Regions from separate parts of the Homo sapiens genome. Here region 1 is linked to region 2. Evidence: promoter capture Hi-C in 16 types of primary human blood cells and fetal thymus (Javierre and others, 2016). All regions are on one chromosome and are shown on one strand. Each heading gives the region's core, a stretch centred on a gene start or on the middle of the fragment in contact. The rest is flanking DNA. Distances are from core to core; before and after follow the strand shown.

What was found. Contacts are between HindIII fragments. The CHiCAGO score rates a contact against its expected background, and 5 or more counts as called.
Region 1: a fragment that was not itself captured here is called in contact with the fragment with the promoter of TUBGCP3 in region 2 in 1 of 17 cell types (monocytes); the score reaches 5.9 in monocytes.

Annotation. Positions count from the first base shown.
Region 1 is chr13:112,881,072-112,887,541 of GRCh38, forward strand. It overlaps ATP11A (ATPase phospholipid transporting 11A), which reads left to right. Exons shown (of 30, transcript NM_015205.3): 30 at 805-6,097. Among named protein-coding and RNA genes, the nearest start is that of MCF2L-AS1, 84 kb to the right of the region's middle. RefSeq lists enhancers at 675-819, 1,991-2,135, 4,437-4,581, 5,008-5,583 and cis regulatory regions at 747, 2,063, 4,509. The HindIII fragment of the contact is 4,471 bases long and covers 2,965-6,470 here.
Region 2 is chr13:112,584,169-112,590,276 of GRCh38, forward strand. TUBGCP3 (tubulin gamma complex component 3) reads right to left here and starts at 3,985. Exons shown (of 22, transcript NM_006322.6): 1 at 3,737-3,985. The coding sequence starts at 3,812. It overlaps LOC124903251 (a long non-coding RNA gene), which reads left to right and starts at 4,018. Exons shown (of 2, transcript XR_007063945.1): 1 at 4,018-5,248; 2 at 5,846-6,108. RefSeq lists silencers at 3,456-3,575, 3,606-3,665, 3,696-3,915 and an enhancer at 3,981-4,800. The HindIII fragment of the contact is 2,856 bases long and covers 1,717-4,572 here.

The DNA.
Region 1 (6,470 bases), core at 3,950-6,449, 300 kb after region 2:
CCGGAGCACATAGCTTGTCGCCTCTCCAACAGACATGGAGGCCATGAAGACATCTGCTCCTGCCAGCATCCGCCGCTGCCCCCTGGTCTAAAAGTGGGCTGACCTGGGGACGGCCCCTCATCAGACAGATGCGTGCTGCCGGCCTCCTGCCGCTCCCCTTGCTGGTCAGACCCACAGGGCCCGTGCACATCCGGGGCCCCAGTGGGCTGTCAGAAGCCATGCAGGCCCCATCCGTATGGTGACATCCTAGGCAACATGTCAAGGGGATGCAAGCTGGGCACGTCCAGTACTAAATCAACCCGGTCCCTGTGGGGTGGGGCCTGCCTTCCCTGGGGCAGTGAGTTCGCCTTTTGTTCAAGGGTCTCTGGGTACCGGTATGGCGTTCGAGCTCACTGCACAGGAAGCCAGCTACAGGGAGGAAGCTCGTAGGTTTCCCGTCCATGGCCTGTATCCCTGGGGCCCCTGGGTTCTTCCCTGGGATGGTGGGACAGGGGGACGGTCACTCTGTTGGTACTGAAAAGGAGAGGCCCTCATTCCTAGACAGAGACCCCTCGCCTCCATATGGCTTCTCTGGTGGGGTGGATCCCGCCCGGCCTGCCCTCAGGACGAGGGTGTGTCCTGAGTTGAGTCTAGCAGTTCCTGCAGGAGGCGATGGTAGTGAGTGCATCCCAGAGTGGCTCAGGTCACCCCAGGCAGCCCCGTGGGTATCCCTGAGACTGACCATGTGTCTCGTTCTCTCAGCAGAATGGGTGCGCACAGCCTCGGGACCGCGACTCAGAATTCACCCCTCTTGCCTCTCTGCAGAGCCCAGGCTACCAGAGCACCTGTCCCTCGGCCGCCTGGTACAGCTCCCACTCTCAGCAGGTGACACTCGCGGCCTGGAAGGAGAAGGTGTCCACGGAGCCCCCACCCATCCTCGGCGGTTCCCATCACCACTGCAGTTCCATCCCAAGTCACAGCTGCCCTAGGTCCCGTGTGGGAATGCTCGTGTGATGGATGGTCCTAAGCCTGTGGAGACTGTGCACGTGCCTCTTCCTGGCCCCCAGCAGGCAAGGAGGGGGGTCACAGGCCTTGCCCTCGAGCATGGCACCCTGGCCGCCTGGACCCAGCACTGTGGTTGTTGAGCCACACCAGTGGCCTCTGGGCATTCGGCTCAACGCAGGAGGGACATTCTGCTGGCCCACCCTGCGCGCTGTCATGCAGAGGCCATTCCCCCAGGCCTGTGTCTTCACCCACCTGCCATCATTGGCCTTTGCTGTCACTGGGAGAGAAGAGCCGTCCAGGGACCCATGGTGGCCCACATGTGGATGCCACATGCTGCTGTTTCCTGCTTGCCCGGCCACCACCCATGCCCTCCATAGGGTGAGGTGGAGCCATGGTGGTGCGTCCTTTACTCAACAACCCTCCAATCCGGATGCTGTGGGAAGGGCCGGGTCACTCGGATACCATCATCCCTGCGGATGCACCGCCGTACCCTGCTCATCTGGGAGTGGTTTCCCTGCGGTTACGTCCAAGCCCGCCTGCCCTGTGTGTTGGGGCTGGCTGAGTTTCGGTCTCCCCATCACCGGCCGCCTCGTGGAGAAGGCAGTGCCACGTGGGAGGACAAGGCCACGCCGGCAGCTTCCAGCCCTGCCGCAGAAGTGCCAGGATGTCCATCAGCCACTCGCCAGGGCACGGAGCCGTCAGTCCACTGTTACGGGAGAATGTTGATTTCGCGGGTGCGAGGGCCGGGAGACAGATACTTGGCTGTGATGAGCAGACATCCTCTGTCCCCGTGGAGGGGTCAACACCAAGGTGGTGTTCGTGCACCAGAACCTGTCTCGGGCTGACGGGGGTGGCACACAGGACACGGGTGGATCCCAACAGGCAGCACCGCACCTCTGCCCGCCTCCCGCACTGCAGCTCCGCCCGCCGGGCTCTGCGTCCCCACGTCCCCTCGTCCCATCCCCACGTCCCCTCATCCCGTCACCTCGTCCCCACATCCCCTTGCCCCGTCACCTCGTCCTCATGTCCCCTTGTCCTGTCACCTCGTCCCCACGTCCCCTCGTCTCCTCATCCCCACGTCCTCTCGTCCCCTTGTCCCGTCCCCACATACCCTCGTCCCCATGTCCCCACGCAGGGCTCTCCTTCGTCTTAGGATCTGTCCAGCGCTGCTCTGGGTGGGTTAGCAACCCCAGGGCTGCTGTGATAGGAAGTCCCTGTTGTTCTCCGTACTGGCATTTCTATTTCTAGAAATAATATTTGACATAGCCTTAATGGTCCTTAAAGAAGACATTTCAGTGTGAGATTCAGACTTCAGACGCTGAAACTGCTGCCTTTCAGGAAAGCACCACCAACGCTGGAGGAGGAGCCGGCCCTCACGCCCGCCCCGCGCCACGCTGTGGAACGGGGCTCCGGCAAGTGAAACCCAGAGGGTGTTTCCGAGGTGCTCGACAGTAGGTATTTTTGGAAGCTCAGATTTCACCATTTGATTGTATAATCTTTTACCTATAAAATATTTATTTGAAGTAGAGGGTAAATCAGCGGTAAGAACAGTGAACACAGTGGTTGGGATAAAATAAGGTGACAAACATCACACCAAAGATGAGGGTAGCGAGCAACTGGCTTGAGCAGACAGAACGGGGAAGACTCCACTCTGTCCCGAGGGGCCAGCCGCAGGCGTCCCCAGGGCCACCCTGCCCTGAGGTCCTTGTGTGGCCGCCCTGGCTTGGCAGCCCTGCCCACGCTGCCCCCGCAAACAATGGTGTGTGCGTTTTTACAGCCCTTTTTAGGAACCCAATATGGGCATAAATGTAACACCTGTAGCGGGGGCAGATTCTCTGTATGTTCAGTTAACAAATTATTTGTAATGTATTTTTTTAGAAATCTTAAAATTGCCTTTGCACTGAAGTATTTTCATAGCTGTTTATATCTCTTTTATTCATTTATTTAACATACTGTCTAATTTTAAAAATAGGTTTTTAAAGCTTTCATTTTTAAGTTTATGAAATTTTGGCCACTTTACATTTAGATTCTGGTGAGAGTTTTGACTGAATGTTCCAATCTCTGATGAATGCGAATTTTCAGATTTGATTTTATTCTCTACACACACCTCTTCTTTTCTTGGTATTTCTGGTGGCAGTGATTAGTTGAACAGCACATTTAAGGCACGATAATTTGCTACACTTTTTCTTTACAATTTGTTGCAATTTCATCTGCTTTCTATGTTTCATTGTTAATTGCCATCCTTCAGCCTTAAAAATAGAAGATTCTCACGTGAAGGTTTAGTAAGTTGGGTCCCAGCTCTGCCTGTGTGGAGATAGTCACCATGTACCTCTGACAACAAGTTTTAGTGTGAAAGTCACTAAACTTTTACACACTCCCAAACGTCTTTTTAAAAATTGCTTGGGAAATTATTAAATGAATGTGCCTGATGATTTGAAATAGACAAGGGGCACGAGATAAAAAAGAAAAGGATGAGAAGATCCTCAGTGAATGACGTTGCAGGGTCTTCATGCAATTTTCCACCTCGCAGTAGTTAGTATTTACTTGCCTTAAACTAACTTTGAAGCAAGTAATGTCAACTTTGAGCACTTTGTTGAGTTTTGAAAAATCTTATTTGTTGCTGCACAGGTTAATAAATTATCAATTTGTAATTCAGCATGTTGGTCAGAGACACGGTCACTGATTCACACCCAGTCCCTGCCACAGACCGTCTCAGACACGCACAGTGGGCCTGCTGCATGATTCACACCCAGTCCCTGCCACAGACCGTCTCAGACACGCACAGTGGGCCTGCTGCATGATTCACACCCAGTCCCTGCCACAGACCGTCTCAGACACGCACAGTGGGCCTGCTGCATGCGTGTTACCTGGCTTTTGGCTCCACGCTCACTCATAGCCATGTCCACATGGGGGCTTGCACACAGGATCACTCACATATGTACATGTACCCACCACAAACGTGCAAGCTCCTGCACACATGCATGCACACAAACGTGTACACAAGTGTGAGCTCCTACACGCATACACACACACACGTGTACATGCACCAAAGCATGTGTGACCTACAGACATGCAGAACATGCACGTGTACACATACCACAGACACGCGTGTGCATGCTCCTACACAATACATATGCACATATCATGAACAGCGTAAGTTCCTACACACGGACGTGTGATACACACATGCATGTACAGGTAAGCACACATGTACAAGCTCCTACAGGCTTGCTCTCACACACGTGTATGCACAGCAGAGAGACGTATGAGCTTCTACTGCACACATGCACACACACACGCACACGTACATTCACTACAAACGTGCAGCCTCCTGCACACGTGCACATTCATGTGTACACCACAAATGAGTTCCCAGACGTGTAAACACACGTGCACACATCGTACACATGTGAGCTCCCACACGTACACACAGATGCACATGGACACACCCCAAACACGCACAGGCTCCTACACACATGCACACACGTGTACACCACAAACGAGCTCCCAGACATGTAAACACACGTCTCCCACACGTGAGCTCCCACACGTACACATGCACATGTACGCACCACAAACACATGCGCAGGCTCCTGCAGGCGTGAATACACACATGCACACACATATACACACATGTGCCACAAACAAGTGCACACTGTCCTGGTGTCCTGCACTGCATCCTGCCTCCTTGCTGAGGGGCCCCTGTGAGAGGCCTCTGGATGGGCATGGGAAGATGGGCTCCCTGGCCCCCAGCCCATGCCTCCCTGGGATGAAGAGTCCCCCTCCTGGCAGAATGTCTGGGCTTTGCAGAGCAGGCCCCGGGGGTGAAGTCGCAGCTTCACTTACACCAGCTGCTCTGTGAGCAAGGCTTGGTGCCCTGGACAAGGCCCTTCCCCTTTAGGGAGGTCCAGCCTCGCAAGCTGAAACCTCCCCTCGGCTCAGCCCTATACCAGGCGGCCACAGCAGGACTGGCCACACCCACGCCGCACCTCATCCGTGCACGCGTCGGAGCACGGCCAGCCTTCCGCCACGAGCCAGCTGGGAAGGGCCGCGGCCGCCTAAAGCCCCAGTCAACCCAGCCTGTGTCTGAGCAGACAGGGCGAACAAGCAGGCCACACCGTCTCGAGGGAGGAGGCCAGATGCGGCCAGCGTCTCCAACAGGGTGACCATCCGCTCGGCTTGCTGAGCGTTTAAACAAATGTTTAGACAGGCTGTGGGGACTCCCCTGAGTTGAGCCTTGGCCAGGGGTCCGGTGCTGTCGCGGGAAACCTCCAGCCTTGTTCTTCAAACCACTCAGCTCATGTGTTTTGCACTGACTAGTACTGAATAATACAACCACTCTTATTTAATGTTAGTATTATTTATTTGACAACTCAGTGTCTAACAGCTTGATATGCAGGTCCTTGCATCCTACATTTCTTTAGGAAGTTACCCATTTGTAACTTTAAAAACAGGAAAAATATCAGTTGGCAAATGCAATCTTTTTTTTTTTTAAGCTAAAGGTGGGTGAACTGGAATGAAAATCTTTCTGATGTTGTGTCTATAAGCAGCCTTGATGGGATATGTTAGAAGTGTCATGAAAGTGTGATTCTACTTTTGCAGAAAAATCTAAAGATCAATTTATATAGCTTTATTTTTTACTTTATCAAAGTATACAGAATTTTAATATGCATATATTGTGTCTGACTTAAAATTATAATGTCTGCGTCACCATTTAAAATGTCTGTTCATTATGTAATGTAATAAAAGAAGGTCTTCAAAAATGTATTTAACATGAATGGTATCCATAGTTGTCATCATCATAAATACTGGAGTTTATTTTTAAATTATTAAACATAGTAGGTGCATTAACATAAATCAGTCTCCACACAGTAACATTTAACTGATAATTCATTAATCAGCTTTGAAAAATTAAATTGTTAATTAAACCAATCTAACATTTCAGTAAAGTTTATTTTGTATGCTTCTGTTTTTAACTTTTATTTCTGTAGATAAACTGACTGGATAATATTATATTGGACTTTTCTCTAGATTATCTAAGCAGGAGACCTGAATCTGCTTGCAATAAAGAATAAAAGTCTGCTTCAGTTTCTTTATAAAGAAACTCACACAAGTGGTGTGTACATTTTCTGCTCTGAGAAACTGTGCAGTCAGAACACTTCGCAGCGTGCTTCTGTGCGGGATGGAGGTGGCAAGCCCAGTGGGTGATGTGGGCCCTCCCTGGCTGTTCCCTCGGCTGCCACCCCCTGCAGGGATACCAGGTGTGCCAGGTGCAGGGCCCTGGTGCTGACTGCCCTGGATGCCAGTGCCTGCACAGAACCGGAAACACCACTGGGTTTCCCAACCTTCTGGTCCATCCCCACCACAAGCTCCTCCCTGACCTCTGCCAAGCTCCTGCCTGCCACCTCGTGCTTGGGGTCTAGGTGCCCCCTTTCCATCCCAATTTTCCCTCTTGACCAAACCCCAGGCTCCTCCAGGCCCTTCAG
Region 2 (6,108 bases), core at 2,735-5,234:
AACAAAAACATTACTCTAGATGCGTGGTTCTCAAACTCTTTGGTCTCAGGGCTTCTTTACACTATTACGATTGAGAACTCCAAAAAGCTTTTGTTTATGTAGGTTATATCTATCCACAGTTACCATATTAGAAATTTAAGCCAAAACAATTTTTAAATTTTAACTTATTGAAAAATAGTAAATCCATCAAGTACAACTTGAAACAAAGCCTGAAACTCTGAAGTTTTAATACACATCTAATGTATATCTTAATATACATGTAATACACATTGATCTTCCCAAGAATGTAATTATATAACCAAAGGAAGATCACATGGTATTTGGAACTTCATCAAAAGCTCTTTACCATTTTGGAAAATCATGAAACCAATAGCAACACCACTTGTGGTACTGAATCACCAAAACAATAATCCTTTATCTTCTGATAGTGGCTTGTAGGACACTCATAGAGGTCTTGCATATTATGGCAATCATCTTCGAATATGCTGTGTACTGTAGTCATACCTGAACATTTATGATGAAATACTTATCTAATATAAATTCCTCTTTATGTATTCTTTACCTCATAGTTAGAAAAAGGATTACAAAGTAGCTATGAAAAGAAGTGTTACCTCTGACAGATTTGAACATTAACATCAAGCACACTGTTTCCAATGATAAGAATAATTACGCAAAGACATAATAAATAAATGTGCTCCCAGGAGGGGCAGGGATATGGAGACAGGATTTGACTATGACTGGCTGGCAGTATGTGTTTCAAGCAAATTCACAGATGTTATAAGTTGGAAAAGGTGGTAAATCATGGTCATGCTAACTTTGTAAAACTGTCAAGCACCATTATATGTAGGTGCTTTGCTTCTGAAGGTCCCTTGAAGTCAACTGTATAATTTTTTAAAAGATACCTTATAAAAATGTGATTCATATGAAATTCTCATTAAAAGTAACAAGTACCTATTATGCCTTGATTTCATAGTACTAAAAAAAATGTATTACAAAAGCATAAGGCCAATTGTAATATGTCATCAAAGAATAAGGTAATTAATCAAATATTCTATGGAGTTACCAGATAAAATGCTCACTAATCAAATTTTTAACACCAAATATTGTAAAGGTAGTAATTAATATTGCTCCTTTGCTCACTAAGGTATAACAAATGAAAGAACAAGGTAAGCTACTATTTATAAATTCTTCAGTAAATAGCAGCATAATTTAAAATTATATCATAAATGCTTGACAATCCTAGCTATCTAGAACATAGCAAAAAGAGCATCACCTTTAATGGACTTCATGACATAATTTATTCAGAGAGGGCCGGGCGCAGTGGCTCGTGCCTGTAATCCCAGCACTTTGGGAGGCCAAGCGGCAGGGGGGTGGGGTGCAGATCACTTGAGGTCAGGAGTTGGAGACCAGCCTGGCCACATGGTGAAACCCCATCTCTACTAAAAACACAAAAATTAGCCAGGAGTGCTGGCATACACCTGTAATCCCAACTACTTGGGGGGCTGATGCAGGAGAATCACTTGAAGGAGGCAGAGGTTGCAGTGAGCCCAGATCATGCCACTGCACTCCAGCCTAGGTGACAGAGCAAGACTCCATCTCAAATAAATAAATAAATAAATTATTTATTCAGAGAGGACCCTGTCAGGATCTGAGAGCCCACTTTTAGACACAGTTCTAAATGGGAAGATAGTAGGATACAGAATTTTGCTGAAAAGAAGCTTTTCAGTCTCTTAGAAGGGACAAAACTTTTATATCAAAGAATCTTCAATGTAAAAAAAAAAAAGTTTTTGGCTGGGCGCGGTGGCTCACACCTCTAATCCCAGCACTTCGGGAGGCCGAGGCGGGTGCATCACGAGGTCAGGAGATCGAAACCATCCTGGCTAACACAGTGAAACCCCGTCTCTACTAAAAATACAAAAAATGAGCCAGGCGTGGTGGCGGGCGCCTGTAGTCCCAGCTACTCGGGAGGCTGAGGCAGGAGAATGGCATGAACCCGGAAGGTAGAGCTTGGCAGTGAGCCGAGATCACACCACTGCACTCCAGCCTGGGCGACCAGAGTGAGACTCTGTCTCAAAAAAAAAAAAAAGTTCTTAGGTTGAGAAATATCATTCTAGCTCATGATGAATGAATTTCAAAATCCAATTATAACAATGGGAATGTATGAATGTGTGGTTTATCCCTAGAAAAAAAAACTCTGGAACCACTGGTATAAGGAAAACACTGACATTAAGGTGGGTAAGTCCTAACAATCTTAGTTTTATCTGATTCCCCCTATGACGAGGAACATGAAACATGTGAAAGGAAACTCAGTCTGCTAATGACAAAAACAAACGATGGCAGGCCATGCTCATACCTCAAGACCTTTCCACTGGTTCTCTCTACTCAGAACCTTCCCCAGATGTTCAAATGGCCCTCCCTTACTCCATTCAGGTCTCTTTAAATATCTCAGAGGCTTTCCCTCACCTGCCTCTTCCCTCTCTATTCCTTTACCCTACTTTTTCGCCACAGTACTTATTGCTAATTAACATGGCTGGTTTATCATCTGTCTCTTCCAGTAGAGTGTCTGTCAGATCTGTGGGAGGAATGACTTGTGCATCTGCATCACCAGCACTTAGCACAGTTCCCGGGGGGAACTTTGAGGACGGGGTTGTCCTCAAAGATTTCTTAGATAAATAAAGTGATAGAATCAAACTTTACAAGATGCAGCAAGAACTGTGTGAAGTCACTCATTTAATAGCGACACAAAATTATTCATGATTGCCCCAAGATTATCATAGAACATCCAATGAATTATGTACAGTAATTGTCATGAAGCATGAAAGGTCAAAATGCATTCTCAGTACTTTAAATGTAACTTTGAAGTCTTCCTTCAAAAATTGAGTAACTTCTTTTCCACATTTTGGTGCTTAAGATGTAACTCAGTTGCTTCCATTACTCAGAAAATTCCCTCATGGTGCATCCTCACTCTCTGCCCCACCAACCTGGCCAAAACAAGGAGCAAGAAATGGCATCCTGTACCATTTCTTTCAAAGTACCTCGACTACAAAATGGTTTTACCTACCGTATAGGATTAGTTTTGCTTATTAGTAACAATATTCGCCATGTGAACTTTCCCAGAATAGTTTTATATCAAATCCAACCTTCAACCCTTTAAACAGTAGGAAAACACGGCAGTTACAGTCGTTAACACCCTCTTCCCATAATACTCAAGCCTGTTAAACTTTCCTAACGAAAAGGGACGATGATGTGACACTCCAGCACCCCGCATCCACCTCCGCGGCGCAGCCGCTCTCTCCACCCCACAGGATGAACCCAAAGGCGCGCAGAGGCGCCCTCCCACGGCGCGTGACACCAGAGAAGGGGGATAAATTGGCGAGCTGGCATTCCTCCCGTCCTCACTGACGGACCCGCGAGCGGAGTGAGCGGTGACTCAGCCCGCTCCGGCTCGGCTCCGCCCTCCCGCCTCCCGCCCCGGCGTTCTCGCCCCGGCCTTGGCCTCTCCACTCCCTCCGCCCCGGTCCTGGCCCCCAGCCCTCCGCTGTCCTCCCCGGCTCCCTGACCCTCGAACCCCAGCCCTCCGCTCCCTCGTCCGGGCCCCACGTCCTCGGCCCGTCCCCCAGCCCTCTGCCCGGCCCTGCATCCTCGTTCCTCCAGCCCCGGAACGTATTAGGGCTGCACGCGCAGGGAGCAGCCCCCGGGACGGGTCTGCGGGCTTCGCGTCGCCCGGCCACTCTACCTTCGCTCCTGCCCAGGATCCTGCAGCACAGGTTCTGCAGCAGAACGTTCGGCGACTTCTGGTCCGGGGTCGCCATCCTCGCCCGGAGCCGTGCACGGTGGTCCGGGCAGAGCCGCCACTGCCGCCGCACGCGCAGGGACCGCGGCCCGCGCCCTTCCTGCGCCCCGCAAGCTCCCTGCTCCTGACAGGCTAAGGCGCGGGCGCCGCCGGCCACCAGGGCGCCATTTTAACGGAACCCGCCGAAAGCGCGGGCGCTTCCCACAATGCCCCGCTTCTTCCCTGCGCCGCGGCCGCGCGTGCGGCTGCCTAAGCGTTCCCGGCCCTGTCTGGTGCATTCCCCCTGCTGCTGCCCGGTCGGCCGAGAAAGTTCCGGGCGACAGGTGGCCCGAGGCCCTCGAGCTGCGCGGACAGAGCGGCCCCGGAGTCGCGAGCGTGACGGGCTTGCTTGGAGGGCACTTGGTGGCCGGTAGCACCATAAAGGCCATAATTTGGTGTGTGGGTGTGGGGGTGTGTGTGTTAACGGCATTGGTTTGATTCACACTTCTGATGAAAGAAGCCTGTTTAAAAAAGAAAAGAAAAAAGAAGCCTGTTTAAAGGGTGCAGGGTGTTACGATTGTTAACGTGCAGTGGGCAGTTCACCTGCTACGCTATCCAACAGGCGCCCTGCTCAGGCCCGACCTCGCACTGCCGCGCGGGCCGGTCCCCCCCGGCCCGGGTAACTGGGACGTCCTGGGAAAATAAATTAATCACGTACGGAGTGAGAGAACAGGAAACCTGCCGAGAAAAAGATCGATAAGCAGACAATTACACCAAGCCAACTTCAGTGCAATCGTTAAAGCTTACACATGGGTGCACGCTTGGGAGCCGTGAGCTACCATGTTAAAAGGCCAACTTCCTAAGGAAAAATGATGGAAAGAGATCCCGAGATCCTATGAAATGGAAGAGGGAGGACAACCCAGCTATCCCAACATCCCAGCTGAGGCCAGCCACACACGTGACTGTCTGCAAAGCCCGTCGGGCCTGGGTCCAGCTCAGGTTGCAGAATTGTTGGCAAGTAAAACGTTTGTTGTCGTTCTGACTCAAAAACATGGAGACAAAGCAGACTTGTAGGGTATTACAGTCAACAACTAGACCCTACAGCTAAAGGACTGTCTCCTTGCATGATGCAACAACCATCACAGCTCTGCAAGAGCAACCAAACCACCAAGGATGCGATCACCCCTCACTGCCTTCGATACGCATTCTGTGGAAACGCTTCTAAACTTGCATCACACTCAACACGATCAGTTAGTAACTGGCTTCTCATGAAGTTATTCTCTCAGCCGCATACTACAATGTCCAGATGTCATCTAAATCCTGCCACCCTCTCCCCCACCTTCAGCTGAAACGCTGCATGACTGCATCATCTTACCTGACCAGCTCTCTCCTAGGACAGACATGCAAGAACCCCCCTCACTAACGCTGATGTTATTTGGTTTACAGATGGCTCTTACTTAAAGATGCAGCTGGAAGGTATTACACTGGTTATGCCATAGCGTCTTTGCCCAAAGAAATAGAAAGTGCTTGTCTTCCAGGAGCAATCATCTCAACAAGCAAAGTTAATAGCATTAATTAGAGCCTGTCAGTTGGCAAAAGGAATAACTGCTAATCTTTATACCAATAGCAGGTATGCTTATAGAGTAGCTCATAACTTTGGAATGCTATGGAGACAAAGGATTTTTAACCTTTTCTAGTCAGCCCACAAAAAAATGGGTGCCTTGTTTCAGAATTATGGCAAGCCATACTATTGCCAAAATCATTAGCCATTATCAAGATTCCAGGCCATTCAAAGACACTCAAAAAAGCAAGATAAGCCAGTTAGCAGGTAGTATAGCAAACAGGGTGGCCATAAACATATCTGAACAAAAAGATCAAACCATTTTGGCCTTTAAGGAAGTTAGATTTTTATGTAAAATTAGCTCAATCTAAATCTCCAAAAACAGGACGAGAAAATTGGGAAACAAAAGTGGCACATGCGCTTCTGAGACTGATGTACGGTTTGACCAAATGTTCTACTCATACTTCCAACTAAGTTACAACCATCTTTCTTTTTTTTTTTTTCTTTTTCAGATGGAGTCTCGCTCTGTTGCCCAGGCTGGAGTGCAATGGCGTGAACTCCACCTCCTGGGTTCACGCAATTCTCCTGCCTCAGCCTCTTGACTAGCTGGGACTACAGGCACCCGCCACCATGCCGGGCTAATTTTTTGTATTTTTAGTAGAGACGGGGTTACACTCTGTTAGCCAGAATGGTCTCGATCTCCTGACCTCGTGATGTGCCCGCCTCGGCCTCCCAAAGTGCTGGGATTACAGGCGTGAGCCACCGCGCCCGGTCC